Regions from separate parts of the Homo sapiens genome. Here all the other regions are linked to region 1. Evidence: promoter capture Hi-C in 16 types of primary human blood cells and fetal thymus (Javierre and others, 2016). All regions are on one chromosome and are shown on one strand. Each heading gives the region's core, a stretch centred on a gene start or on the middle of the fragment in contact. The rest is flanking DNA. Distances are from core to core; before and after follow the strand shown. Region 1 holds the start of ARPC2 (actin related protein 2/3 complex subunit 2). Region 2 holds the start of SMARCAL1 (SNF2 related chromatin remodeling annealing helicase 1). Region 3 overlaps STK16 (serine/threonine kinase 16). Region 4 holds the start of ATG9A (autophagy related 9A).

What was found. The method cuts DNA at HindIII sites, captures the fragments that hold promoters and counts their contacts. A CHiCAGO score of 5 or more calls a contact.
Region 2: the fragment with the promoter of SMARCAL1 here is called in contact with the fragment with the promoter of ARPC2 in region 1 in 1 of 17 cell types (neutrophils); the score reaches 5.0 in neutrophils.
Region 3: a fragment that was not itself captured here is called in contact with the fragment with the promoter of ARPC2 in region 1 in 1 of 17 cell types (total CD8 T cells); the score reaches 5.4 in total CD8 T cells.
Region 4: a contact is called between the fragment with the promoter of ATG9A here and the fragment with the promoter of ARPC2 in region 1, in 5 of 17 cell types (total CD4 T cells, non-activated CD4 T cells, total B cells and 2 more). The highest score is 9.8, in total CD4 T cells.

Annotation. Positions count from the first base shown.
Region 1 is chr2:218,215,632-218,218,974 of GRCh38, forward strand. ARPC2 (actin related protein 2/3 complex subunit 2) reads left to right here and starts at 1,558. Exons shown (of 11, transcript NM_152862.3): 1 at 1,558-1,623; 2 at 1,832-1,913. The coding sequence starts at 1,840. It overlaps LOC101928487 (a long non-coding RNA gene), which reads right to left and starts at 1,555. Exons shown (of 2, transcript XR_923908.2): 1 at 1,397-1,555; 2 at 470-1,220. RefSeq lists an enhancer at 1,567-2,170 and a silencer at 1,692-1,741. The HindIII fragment of the contact is 6,430 bases long and covers 343-3,343 here.
Region 2 is chr2:216,410,868-216,414,210 of GRCh38, forward strand. It overlaps SMARCAL1 (SNF2 related chromatin remodeling annealing helicase 1), which reads left to right and starts at 1,617. Exons shown (of 18, transcript NM_014140.4): 1 at 1,617-1,781; 2 at 2,989-3,025. It overlaps SMARCAL1-AS1 (SMARCAL1 antisense RNA 1), which reads right to left and starts at 1,633. Exons shown (of 5, transcript XR_001739881.1): 1 at 1,558-1,633. RefSeq lists enhancers at 1,379-1,673, 1,417-1,506, 1,637-1,726. The HindIII fragment of the contact is 8,553 bases long and covers 1-3,343 here.
Region 3 is chr2:219,247,367-219,250,709 of GRCh38, forward strand. STK16 (serine/threonine kinase 16) reads left to right here. Exons shown (of 8, transcript NM_001330213.2): 5 at 49-169; 6 at 296-391; 7 at 827-948; 8 at 1,055-2,971. The coding sequence ends at 1,193. It overlaps TUBA4A (tubulin alpha 4a), which reads right to left. Exons shown (of 4, transcript NM_006000.3): 4 at 2,344-3,343. The coding sequence ends at 2,986. Among named protein-coding and RNA genes, the nearest start is that of STK16, 3.6 kb to the left of the region's middle. RefSeq lists enhancers at 2,617-2,706, 2,747-2,866. The HindIII fragment of the contact is 383 bases long and covers 1,883-2,265 here.
Region 4 is chr2:219,227,945-219,231,287 of GRCh38, forward strand. ATG9A (autophagy related 9A) reads right to left here and starts at 1,692. Exons shown (of 16, transcript NM_001077198.3): 1 at 1,591-1,692; 2 at 490-541; 3 at 1-109. The coding sequence starts at 80. ANKZF1 (ankyrin repeat and zinc finger peptidyl tRNA hydrolase 1) reads left to right here and starts at 1,862. Exons shown (of 14, transcript NM_018089.3): 1 at 1,862-1,956; 2 at 2,284-2,461. The coding sequence starts at 2,314. RefSeq lists enhancers at 632-1,180, 1,181-1,728, 1,729-2,276, 1,947-2,056 and silencers at 1,407-1,456, 1,667-1,796. The HindIII fragment of the contact is 5,267 bases long and covers 1-3,343 here.

The sequences.
Region 1 (3,343 bases), core at 308-2,807:
AAAAAAGGCCGGGCATGGTGGCTCACGCCTGTAATCCCAGCACTTTGGGAGGTCGAGGCAGGAGGATCATGATGTCAGGAGTTCGAGACCAGCCTGACCAACATAGTGAAACCCCGTCTCTACTAAAAATACAAAACATTAAAAGGGCATGGTGGCAGGCACCTTTAATCCCAGCTATTTGGGAGGCTGAGGCAGGAGAATCGCTTGAACCGGGGAGGCAGAGGTTGCAGTGAGCCGAGATCATGCCATTGCACTCCAGCCTGGGCAAGAGTGCAAGACTCTGTCTCAAAAAAAAAAAAATTTAAGTTAGCGTATAATTTTAGGGGATCAGCAATATCCTGAAGCTTATCCATAGCCCGTTAAGTAATGTTTCAAAGGGCTATCTGTGCCTTAATGATAGGAGCTAGTTTCTTGTTCATTTTTTTATCCCCATCCCCAAACACATAGCAGAAAATAAATTATTTCCTTGTATGTAGAACGGACTCAGCTAAGTTTATTATATTCTCCCCGGAGGAGGGAAAACACAAAACAAGGCACAAAGGCAGAAGGTGCAGATGTAGCACAACGATGAGTTAAGATTCCGCACGCAGGTAACAAGGAGGGTATGGTATATCTCTGCCAGAGGTACTGGAAGGTTTCAAAGGCAGAAAAAAATGTGTTCCGGACACCTGGACGCAGAATTGGAGGCATGACAGGAACACAGGGAGGCCCATCTAAGTTGCCTATTCACCCAGGTGACCTCTCTTTCATTTCTTTAATTGTCCTTTTAACAATATGGGGAATTTCACCCAAGGAAAGGGTCCTCTTCTCGCCCCAGCAGGCAAGGGGTGTTCCTCCAGCGCAAGTTCCGGCCCCAGCTGCCCCCACGTCCCACAGGTCTCCTGCCTTTTGGCACGCACACTCCTGACCACTCGCTGCTTCCGCATCCCTACTCTGATCCTCTCCCCATGCATCTCTGCCTCCTTAGACAACTGAGAATTTTATTGTCTGTTTCCTTTGCCAGACTGTAAGTTCCACGAGGGCAGGGCCTCGTCCATTTCATTTACCACTACATCCCCAGTATAGAGCAAGAGCCCATGAAAATGTTTGTTGGAGAAATGAATGCATGATGGTGTCGCTGGACAGCTATACCTGGAAAGAAAAAGAGGCACCCCCATCAAACAAGCTGGGAGCTAAGAAGCCCGCTGGGAGACGACAAGGGCGAGCTTCTTGCGAGGTTTCTGAAATGACAAGACCGGAAGAATGGAGTTGGATCTCTGGGACAAGCGGGAGAGAGAAGCTGAACAGTCAGGCAAGCCTCGGGGAATGACAGCTCCGCGGGGGACGCACTGGTAGGCGGTAGACGTAAGCGGGGTCGGTGGGAAAGTAGACGGTGGGGCGGCGGCATCACACATACGCAAGCGCAGCCTCCGTTTCCTCCGGCGCGCCTGCGCTCGCGTTCACGAGTGGTTGAAGCGGAAATGGCGCCGCGGGGCCGCGCGTCCAGGCGGCGAGCGGAAGTGGGTGTGAGAGCGGAAGTGGCCGGCTAGAGCCGGGGGCTGGGCGGGGACCGGGCTTGTCGGTGAAGCGGCAGTGGCGGCGGCGGCGGCGGCTCGGCAGGCGGGTTCAGGCTTCGGGGGCCAGGTCGGTTGGGTGGGTGGGTGTCTCCACAGTCTGCGTGCGTGGGCCAGCGCGTTCGTCTTACCCTTCCCTCCACCCCGGCCCCTCTCCCCTTCTCCCCTAACCTCCTACCCCACCCAGCCCCACTCAGGGGGCAGCAGGGCCGCTCCCTCCGTCCTTGCCTCCCTTACCCACCCTCACCGGCCCTTGTTTCTCCTTCCCCTGGGGGCAGCCGCCGCCATGATCCTGCTGGAGGTGAACAACCGCATCATCGAGGAGACGCTCGCGCTCAAGTTCGAGAACGCGGCCGCCGGGTGAGCGCGCGCCCGGGGCCGGGGGTGGCGGGGGAAGCAGAGTTGACCCCAGCTAATCCCCAATGTTGTCCAGTCCCCCAGACCTGGAGGAGAGAAATGGGGTGCCTGGCAGGGTGTAGGGGCTGCCCCAGCGGGGTAGACGTGGGAGGCGATTGGGCGCGGCCGGGCGAGGGGCAGAGATGCGTGGGGAGAGGCTCAGAGGAGGGATGCGGAAGCAGCGAGTGGTGAGGGCTGTGCGTGCCAAAGGGCAGGAGACCTGTGGGACGTGGGGGACCCTGGAGCCGGAACTCGCTCCGGAGTAGCCCCCTGCCCTCTGGGGCGAGAAGGGGACCCCTTCCCTGCGTGAAATTCCCCGGCATTGTTCTGAACCCAGAGAGAGCCTGTTTGGAATTGGGTTGGAAGGAGTTTTCAGGAATTCCCAGGACTGGAGGAGGGAAGGAGATGCAGGCCCACATCGCCACCAGCATTCTCGTTCCCCACCCCCATCTCCTTTAAAAGGAGCAGAAGAGAAGACTAAAAGCCGACCCAGTCTTAGAGCCGGAAAAACGCGATCTCTGGTTTCCCTTCCCCGAACCCTTCTGTGAGAGACACTGGGCCATTTTGTTACATATTTTTAAAGCAAAGCCAATTGTCCCTCGCTCCACACCCCTTCCTTATCTCTCCTTTGAGGTTCTAATGCTCTCTCCTCACCCACTAGCCTTTATCTGGTTATCTTGTAAATTCTTACATCAAGACCCTAGGTCTGTGATTTCTTCTGTGGTAGCCCTGGCCCAGTTACACACTTCAAAGACTCCAGAATCTATAAAGTTCTTAGATAACCTGTCTTTACGATTGGACTTTTTAAAAGATGGGCTTAGGGCATCTTTCCAAGGCAGCCTCTCTGCCAAACACAAGAATCAGTAGAAGACAATCTGCTCCTCCAAAGCTGCTTTGCTTTTCTAGTATAATATTTAAAACATGAGCTAAGGATTTTGGGTTCTAATTTTTGGTGGCCTGTGGCCAGTCCCTTTGCCTCATTTCCCTATGTATGAGCATGGGGCTTCACATCTGGGTTTCACAGTTAATAAGTGCAGACCGTTTCTGGTGAACTGGGAACTAGTAATAGGAAAGTGCTTGCAGATCCACAGATGGGAGAAGATTGGTAGAGGGGAATTTTTAAGTGGTCATAATGTACTTGTGGCTTGGAGGCATTAGAAAGTATTAACTGCCATTTAAATTGAATATATAGTATGTCCTGTCTCCTTTATAAGGCCACAGATTTTATCTGTAAAACAAAGCACTACTTTCCTTGAAGTAATACGTGTAGTGAGCAGTACTGTTTCCTGCCAGGGGCTGCAGTTGGTTATATTTGAGGCTGACTTGCTTCTTTCTTGTCTTAGCCTCTCTTACCAGTTTCTTTGCATTTTAAATATTCAAATGAATCAGCCCAG
Region 2 (3,343 bases), core at 367-2,866, 1.8 Mb before region 1:
TGTTCTGGGATTTCACAGTTCACTAAGCACTTCCCCTCATAATACCTTGCTTTGATTCTAATAACAAGATTTACCAAGGTGGTATTGTTTTCTACATTTACTTTACAGATGAGAAAATGGAGGCACAATCACTGGGTATGTCAGGTCAATAAAAGGGGTAGAGCTGAGATTTGAATACTTTCTACTACTAAACCTCACACAGATCCCCTAAGACAGGCAATGTCTTTGTCATTTAAGACAAATGGGCTGGGCGCAGTGGCTCACACCTGTAATCCCAGCACTTTGGGAGGCTGAGGCAGGTGGATCACTTGAGGTCAGGAGTTTGAGACCAGCCTGGCCAACATGGTAAAACTCTGTCTCTACTAAAATTACTAAAATCAGCCAGGCATGGCGGCATGCACCCATAATCCCAGCTATTTGGGAGGCTGAGGCAGGAGAATCATTTGAACCCAGGAGTCAGAGGCTGAAGTGAGCCAAGATTACACCACCACACTCAGTCTAGGCAACAGAGTGAGACTCTGTCTCAAAAAAAAAAAAAAAAAAAAAAAAAAAAAAAAAAAGGAAGGAAGGAAGAAGGGAGATTATTTATTGTTTCAAAAGTCACACAAATTCTACATTATTATTTTAGAAAATTCAAATCATTCTGAAAAATAGAGATTAAAAAGCTGAAAAGTGTATTTCATGCCACTCTGCTCCTGAACAGTTTGGTGACTTTTTAAGTTTCCTTCCCAGACCTTTATGAGTTTACATACATGTACAGGTAAGGATGAAAAAAAAAAAAATCAAACTACACACATTGCTGTGCTTCCTTTTTCTTAGCATGTCTGGTCCATTTTTTCAAATCCTTTAGTAGACTTGTTTGTTTTTAAATGAGCCATGTTTGAAAATAGAACAATAGCAACATTCATATGCACACTGATAGAGAAATGTTATATTTATCACCAATGGTGCTCAGGATGGCTCAGGATGTTGGTGCTCAGGATGGGGTAAAGTGACTCTTTAAGTCTCATGACTAATCTTCTCTCAAGAGGAGGGGCTATGGAATCAGAATCACAAGCTAGCTTAATAAAGCCTTGAGAAATATTATCAAATAGCTGTCTTAGTTTCCCCCTCTGTAAAAGGGGGACAAGAATGTGTTCCATAGGTTGTAGTGCGGTTAAATGAGGTAACTCATATTTATGCTAAACACAATGACTGATGACTACAATGATGACGATGATGGCAGCCGGGCGCAGCGGGTGGGGCTTAAATGGCAAGTATAGCAATACCAGGAATGGATGCCCCGGGGAGATACTTTTTATTAAGAGCTGCCAAGTTAGTATGGCTGTCTGGGATGTCCTCTGGAGACAGCCGACTCCGGGTTTGGAAACCTCAACGTCCTAGGCTTTCAGGACCTAGTGTTTGGCTAAACCTCTGGAGAACTACAACTTCCAGGGTGCACCACTTTCGCCCCGCCCATGACGTTGCAGCTCCCGTTTCTCGCCAGGCTCCCGGCCCGAACTACAAATCCCAGAAGACACTGCAGCCCCGCTCGCGTTCTCGTCTCATCATTCTTACTTTTGGAAGCGAAACTGCGGCCGCGTTGCCTGCTGGGAAATGTAGTTCAGCGGTGGCCTAGCCCTTCAGGCCTGGCCGCTACAATAAGGCTGGCGAACTCGCAGCGCTTGAATACCCGTGGCCTAACCGTCCACTCGGAAGACCGGTCCCGCTCGGGAGGCTCTGCAGTCGCGCCTGGGGTCAGGGCCGGGGGCGAATGTGGCTCGCGTTCTAGGCCTCCCTGGGTGAGAAAGTGGTAGACTGGCAGGAAGGCGGCGGAGGCGGACGAGACCAATGCCAGCCTGGAGGAGGAAGTGGGCCAATGGGAAGGGTGAATCCAAGTGGAGATCGTAGGGGTGGGAGTGGGGCGTGGCGCCCGCTTACCTTGAGGCTGGGTGAGGCTCGCCCCGAAATGCGGGGCGTGGGGGGCGGGGGGCAGAGGTCCCTGCCTAGAGGGGAAGAGGGGCGTCCATGTGGCGGAATGGATTTATGGTTTGGGGCTGATCAGTGGGTCTTATGGCCGAGTCTCTCTGGTTAGTGGAGACAGCTTACCAGGCCTGGGATCTGGGGAGTTTGGAGGTGCAGGAGATCCCTGGTTGGAAACTTAGGCAGGAGTGTGTTACCCAGAGAGACTGAGGGCTTCTGCTGTGCACCTCCAAAACCTTTTCCTAACCTCTTCACCCCTTCCTAACTGCTAATGGTTGGAGAAGGTGGAAGTTCTCTGGGGATAGATACTTCGTGGTGGGGGAGGGGGGAGGGGGGTTGGGTTCTGGCCAAAGGGAGCCCCAGCAGGGAAGGAAGGCTTTGAACCCTATAGCTGCCCAGAGGCCTAAGCAATGCTACTGGAGTACCCCTACATCATCATTGTAACCGTTACACAGCATTACATTAGATGCAGCCTATTTAGTCTGAACCAAGCCAGACAAATTGGTGTGTCCTGCCCGCTGCTTCTAAAATATTGTAAACATGTCTCAGCTCATAGGAAAATAAATGTTCCGGGTAAATTCATGGAAAAAAATAATCAGGGTGCAATATGGAATGTTTACAATGATCCTACTTTATAATAAATTCTTATATCTCCTAAATATGTGCCATTTTGTTATGGATGAAAAAAAATCCGAACTATATACTCTAAATTATTAATTTCAACTGTGGTTATTGATGGCTGGTAAGATTACAGAGTAATTTTATTCTTTTTTGTTTACATCTTTATGTAGCATCTTAATTTGCACAGTGAACACATAATTTTTTTTTTTCTGCTCCTTATTTTCCCAGGAGAGTCAGTCAGTTGCTCCGTGTGTTGTGTTGGAAGTCAGGTCCTAAGGCCAGCTGCTCTGGCTTGCACTGAGCCACAGGCAGACTGATTTGCCAGGAATGATAAAAAGGGGTGAATGTGAGGGGAGAATTCAGTGTGCAGGCTATGGGAGGCTAATGCTTTTTTCCTTCTTCTAGGTTGGAAAAAGACTATGTTAGCAAGTGTCACGCCATGGTATGTGGTTGGTTGGTCTATTTCAGTCTAATCTATTATGCTTTCTGGTTAAAAATGTCACCTTTCTCATTATCTGATGGATTTACGTTGCAATGCATAACTTTCTTAGGTTCTGATAACTCACCTTGGCTGGGCCATGTGAGTTATCAGAAGAGTTACTCACCATTTTGGCAGTGCTTCGAACCATTGAGTTACCATGTGAGTTACCATGTGAGAAGGAGAGAAATATTGCCTCTGAAATGCCTTTTTAGCTTTGGATTTGCTTTTTGCTTTTTTTTTTTTCTTTGAGAGTTTTGTTCTTGTTGCCCAGGCTGGAGT
Region 3 (3,343 bases), core at 824-3,323, 1.0 Mb after region 1:
AGCCTTCCTGTCCAGAGATGCTCATAGGTCACTTCTACTTCTCTACAGAGACTTGAAGCCCACCAATATATTGCTTGGAGATGAGGGGCAGCCAGTTTTAATGGACTTGGGTTCCATGAATCAAGCATGCATCCATGTGGAGGGCTCCCGCCAGGCTCTGACCCTGCAGGTAAAAGAGTCTCCAGGTTCCTTTTCTCACCTGTTCCCCATTCCCACCCCTTCTGGTGCATGTCCCAGTTTGGTCACATGACCATGACCTGTGCCCCACTTTTGAGCTCTGGGATCACTGTTCCAGGACTGGGCAGCCCAGCGGTGCACCATCTCCTACCGAGCCCCAGAGCTCTTCTCTGTGCAGAGTCACTGTGTCATCGATGAGCGGACTGATGTCTGGGTGAGGAGCATGTGGGTGGGTATCTGGGTAGGGAGGGCTGTGGCTCTGTACCCACCGTGGAGTAGAGTAGGTTGTTGGTTTCTGTTGCATGGGGCGCCAGGAACCACAATATGTCCCCATCCACTTCAACTTCCTTCCTGGGAAATGTCACTGATACTGTACCCAGTTGTACCGGATGTGGTATAATCTGTGCCCCTGAACAAGGTGAGTACAGCTCAGTGTCAGTAGTGAAGGCACTGGCTAAGCAGGGGCTAAGCTAAACAGGGGCTGCGGAGGCCTCCAGCTGACTGGCAGTTTCTCTGGACCCTGGTGGTGCCATGTGGCTGAGGTCAGCGTATTCTTTTTAGCTTATGGAGTCTCCTTTTACCACAGAAGTAAAGGGAGAGATGTCACCTCCACTGGTCCCCTTCTAGGGACTAATCAAGTTATGCTCAGTCCCTAGGCTGCGTGCTATATGCCATGATGTTTGGGGAAGGCCCTTATGACATGGTGTTCCAAAAGGGTGACAGTGTGGCCCTTGCTGTGCAGAACCAACTCAGCATCCCACAAAGCCCCAGGTGAGTGAGCAACGAATAGGGCATCAAGTGTTTCAGACTCCCCCCTGGTATTAGCTGAGTTGACAGATAGGTGTCATCCGGTCACCCTGGGCTCCTCCCTCCACAGGCATTCTTCAGCATTGCGGCAGCTCCTGAACTCGATGATGACCGTGGACCCGCATCAGCGTCCTCACATTCCTCTCCTCCTCAGTCAGCTGGAGGCGCTTCAGCCCCCAGCTCCTGGCCAACATACTACCCAAATCTGAAAAAGCAGCATGTTGAGAAGATGGCCCCTTGTGCCTTGGAAAGAGGTTCCCATCCCTCATTGGAATCACCACCCATTCCATCCAGGACTTCTCTTACACTTGGGGGTAGCGGGGTCAGGACAATCATCTCAGTCCTGCATCTTTTCTTCTGCTTTCTTCCCTCCAAGAGCAAAACCTGGGCAAGGGGACTTACTGAGTGGGGGTGGGTGGGGGTTGGGAAAAGGGAAACTGGTGGGATATGGAACATGGCTCTGAGCAGGACTGTTGAGCTCACATAGTGTTCTGACTCCAAATCTGGGAGCAGGAGAATGTGTAAACAAGAATAAAGTGGAAGCAGGTTGGTGTAGATCTTAGTCTCAGTGTTCCTGGAGTGAGAGAAGAGGTGCAAGGGGCCCAAAGTCAGGTTGCCATTTCAGGCGAACTGCCTGGGAAGGAGGAATGGTGCAGAGTCGGCAATGGTGTGACTTCATTCTACAGGAGGTTGGTTAGCAGTGGACAGTTCTAGCTTGTCTTAGATCAAAACTTAAAGCTGCTTGGGCTCAAGCTGGCATCTGCCTGTGTCAAGAACTAGGGCCCCCTAAAAACACTCAACTAGTTCTTTCCTTCCTTCACTCCTGGGGTGAGTAGCTTAGTCAAAGCTGCCTAGCCGGTTTGCTAGGCAAGGGCCTCTGGGTGGAGACACCTGAGGAAGCTTTGAGACAGGTAGATTACAGGTCTCCCATCCTCAGCCTAGGGGCGAGGGGAGTGGAGGTGGCAGCGGCAGCTGTTTTGGCCTGTGTCTCCCTGATCGTTCAAGCTCATACATGGTTAATGATTAATGAGGCAGTGTGGTGTGGCAGTATCCAGCTGCCACTTCCTGCCTACTCTGCTGAGTAAACAGGGGCCCTGTCTTAGCTGGGCTTCAAACCTGTTCCCTAGGGAAGGGCTCTGTTCCCTGAATCACCAGGGAGGAAAGGCAAGGGCAGGGTTGGCATCTCCTGCTCTTTTGTGATCCAAGCCTCCTCCCCCGAACCATGTCTACCCCACAGTATGACATCAGCATGGGGCCTGGGGCTCCTGTTAGCAAAGTTGAAGCTTTCCCCAGGGCCCTAGCAGGAGTCTCCCACTAGCTAGCACAGAGGCTGAGGCCAGAAAGAAATCACAAACAGAGGGGAGATGACCTGACTTTTAATGGCACAGCCCCAGCTCCAGCAAAGCAGCAAGACAGGAAGCTATGCAAAGCTGCTCAGAGGTGCAGTGGCACAAACAACTCTAGGAGATCGCCTGTGTTCCCTCCCATCCCCCAAGCTTATGACGTGGCTCCATGCCCAGGAACTCTGGGCCAGCCCAGCCCCACTCCCAAACCCTCATAATGCACAGAGGAGCCTGGGCCAAGCCTTGCTTCCAGAGTTGGTAAATGTAGAGGCAGCAGGAAGAACAGGGTAGCAGTCTAACTTTCAAAGACAGAAACCACTGGATTATACTCCTACTTGGAAAGGAGCTGAAGACTCATCCTTCAACAGTTTGTGCCTGGATTTTGGTCCTCATTTCCTCCCTATACTGAGTAACCCTAGGACTTCAATTTAAAGTCCCTGGGGTTATGCTTCCTGGGCCTGGCAAGAACCCCTTTGCAGGTCTCACCTTCAGCGATGGAAGGGATAAGGGTCATGAACAGCAAACAGAGCAGCAGCAGCATGAAGGGGAAGGCAGCAGAAGCTCAAGCACTCAGAGGGAACAAGAAACCGTGCAAGGAAACTGTTTATTTCGAAAGGATTTTGCAATAAACATAGTGAATAGGCTCCAGGCAGCTGCTTTATTCTTCTCCCTCATCCTCGTCCTCATAGGAGTCGATGCCCACCTCCTCATAATCCTTCTCCAGGGCAGCCATATCCTCACGGGCCTCGGAGAACTCACCCTCCTCCATGCCCTCACCCACATACCAGTGCACAAACGCCCTCTTGGCATACATCAGGTCGAACTTGTGGTCCAGGCGGGCCCAGGCCTCGGCGATGGCGGTCGTGTTGCTCAGCATGCACACGGCACGCTGCACCTTGGCCAGGTCACCCCCAGGCACCACAGTGGGAGGCTGGTAGTTGATACCAACCTTGAAGCCTGTGGGGCACCAGTCCACAAACTGAATGCTGCGCTTGGTCTTGATGGCGGCAATGGCA
Region 4 (3,343 bases), core at 442-2,941, 1.0 Mb after region 1:
ACCAACAGGTCCTCCTCCCCTGGGGGTGAATCACTATAGGAGGCCTCTAGGCGCTGGTATTCAGTGTCAAACTGCGCCATCACCACCGCCCCCTGTCCACCTTGACCACCTGCCAATAAGGAGGAAGAAGAGACCCTGATTCAGTTCCAGCTGCTGCCCATGGGCTGCCCTGCCTACTGCCAAAAGGAGAAAGTACCCTTGGGCTTTGTCCACTACCAGCCTCCTTGGCTCAGAGGCAGAGGAGTAGTGACACAAGAAAGGCAGTAAGCTCAGGGCTGGGGGAGCCTTAACTCTGGCCAGTCTGGGTGTCTACTGCTGCTTTCCTGGCCCAAAGCCAGAATCTGTCCCTTTGTTGGGGGCTGTTTCATCTTCTATTTAACGGACAGAAGAGTCCCTCCCCCGCCCATCCTGGGAACCCTGGTCTCCCAAGAGACTAACAGTTTGGAAGCACTTCACAAACAAATGTTTGAGAAAAGCACATGGCCCTACCAGCTCCATGGACAGTATGTGCTCCTCTCCAGCCCTCGATGCTCTGCAGCTGCTGGAGGAGAAGATGTCAGGCCCCAGAGAGTGGGCAGTGGGGATAAAAAGGAACCCAACCCTCCCAGCCATCCACACCCCACCAAGAGGAGGCCAAGCATGGGGCAGGAAGGCTGCAGTGGGGAAGAAGCACCCTTCCAGCCCAGGACTACGAGCACTTCCTCTGGCTGTGCTAAACCGGGCCACTCTTCCAACTCCAGGGTCTCAAGAAGTAACTTAGGGACCCCATGGAGAATGAGTGGGTACAGACCTGAGGCCAGGGGCGCCTCTGGACTATTTCTCCATTGCCCTACCTTAGCCTCAGAAATGACATACTTCTCAGGGTCCACAAAACCTCAAGAGTCTTTCCTGAAGAGGACCTTTCTGGTCAACCCCTTCTCTTACTTCCCTAGCACCAAAGATCCAGCCGGTGAGCAAACCTTCTGGATGGGAAACCTTGACTGGGTCAGTGTAGACCCCCGATCCTAGGTGAATTTGTGGGTTCCCTAGGTCCTGTAAGCCAGGCATGGTCGAGGTGGTACTCACCTGTCCGTGCAGCCCCTGGGGGCCGTGGATCTTGGCCCAGCCTGGCCCCGGTGGGATTCCCTGGGCTAGTGAGAGCCCTGCCCCTCAGGGAAGTCACCACTCACAGGGTCAGTGTGGACCAGGGCCCGTGGAGCCCCGGCCGGCTGGGCCTGGGCTCAGGGGTTCCTGCGGATGTTGCAGGGATCGAGTCAGCCTTACAGCTGATAGCCCGGGTGGGTTGGCTTGCCTCCCCACACCCAGCCGCGGCGACCGTGGACCGGAGTCCACCTCGCCCCAGGGTCGCCCGGCCCCAGGCCAAGGGCTGGCAGCTCCCAACAGCGGACAACCTCGCGCGCGGCCCCGGCGCCCGCGCGCGCCCCCGTCTGCGCGCGCCAGCAATCAAAACATTCCGGCTGCGCGCCCCCGCCCCGCCGGCGGCGCCCCTTCCTCCGTTACCCGCCGCGAGCTCACTTAGGGCTCCGCAGGCACCCCTGGGCAAGGCCAGACACGGGGCCTGGGATTCCAATAACCGGTCTCACGTCTTACCTCAGGAACAGCGACCCGGGTGATTCCAGAGGCTCCGCCGGCTCCGCTCGGCTCGGCTCGGCTCGGCGCGACCCGCGGCGCTAGGCCGGGTGTCTGCCACTCACTGTCACCCGCAGCCAGGCTGGCCAATAAGCACGGGGGGCGGAGACACAACGGCCAATTCTCGGCTTCAGGGACGGGACTAAAGTCTCGAGGCGGGTCTTGGACAGTCAGCGGCCCAATAGTGTGCTCTACGTGGGGCGGGGCTCAGGTGCGGACGCCGCCGGTTGTCCTCTTCGCTGCTCCGTAGTGACGGGGATTGTTGTGTTGCAGAAATCCGGCAATCGACCTGAGGACTTGCGAGCCGCTCAGCTCCCGGGACGTTTGGTGCGTCTTCTAAGGGCGTGGGCGAGTTTACGCGGGCCAGTTGTTGCTGGTCGCATGGGTAACGAAGAAAGTTCGGCTAGGCAAGCTCAGTGATTTTTAACTCTGTTGGACTCGATTTGGGAGCCGAATGCCTATTTCATTCTTTTGTGGGCTGAGACTGGGGGTTTGAGAAAGTGGACGGGGGCCAAGGTATTCATCTCACAGTTGGTAGCAGGATGAGAGACGAGAAGTCTTGCGGTGCAGGAGAAACCAAGTCAGGCAGGCAGGAGACGCAGCAGTAGGATCTCGTTTGCAGGAGCCCTGTTTCTTACACGCTTTCTACTCCAGGAGCTGCTGCTAAATAATTTCTGCTCAGCCATGTCGCCGGCTCCAGATGCAGCCCCGGCTCCTGCGTCGATCTCCCTGTTTGACCTCAGCGCGGATGCTCCGGTCTTTCAGGGCCTGAGCCTGGTGAGCCACGCGCCTGGGGAGGCTCTGGCCCGGGCTCCGCGTACTTCCTGTTCAGGTATCCTGGAAGGTTTCGTGTGAAACGTGACAGGGCTCCTTACAGCGTATTGCCCGTTCAGGGAACACATTCTTATTGGTATTCCCGAGCTTAGGAGGCCAATTGATTTATCTTTCTGCTTGATTAAATTCACTTAATCTCTGGGTAATGTCCAGCACAGCCCTTGTTTTCAAACAAGTCTTTTTGCCATTGCATGTATCTCCTCACGTTAACACCATTCCCTTCAAAAACACTTTAAACTTTGTAGAGATAAAATTCTCAGATGTATTCCACATTTAACCAGGCCCCACTCAAATTATTCCTTTTTGCTGAATATGAAACAATTTATTATTTGTTTCGTATAGCTTTATTTTTTGAGAGTCTCGCTCTGTCGCCCAGGCTAAAGTGCAGTGGCACGATCTCCACCCACTGCAATCTCCGTCTCCCGGGTTCAAGTGATTCTCCTGCCTCAGCCTCCCGAGTAGCTGGGACTACAGGCCCGCACCACCATGCCCGGCTAATTATTGTATTTTTAGTAGAGACGGGGTTTCACCATGTTGGCCAGGCTGGTCTCAAACTCCTGGCCTCAAGTGATCCGCCTGGGTCAGCCTCCCAAAGTGCTGAGATTACAGGCATGAGCCACCGTGTCGGTCCTGTTTTGTGTAACTTTAGTTTGGCTACATCTTTTCTTGCACCTCTCCTTAGACAAACTGTACACTAATTGGAAATGTAAACTTTAAAAAGCATTTGGGAAGTAGTTTTTGTGCAGTGAAAAATAATTTTAAACTGAACAGAAATTATTTTCTTTAGGATTCACCTAAACAATCTGTTTGGCTAATTTAAATTAGACAAGACTCAAACTCAGCCAGTGGGGAGGACTTGCAGACGCTGGATCTCGGGAGA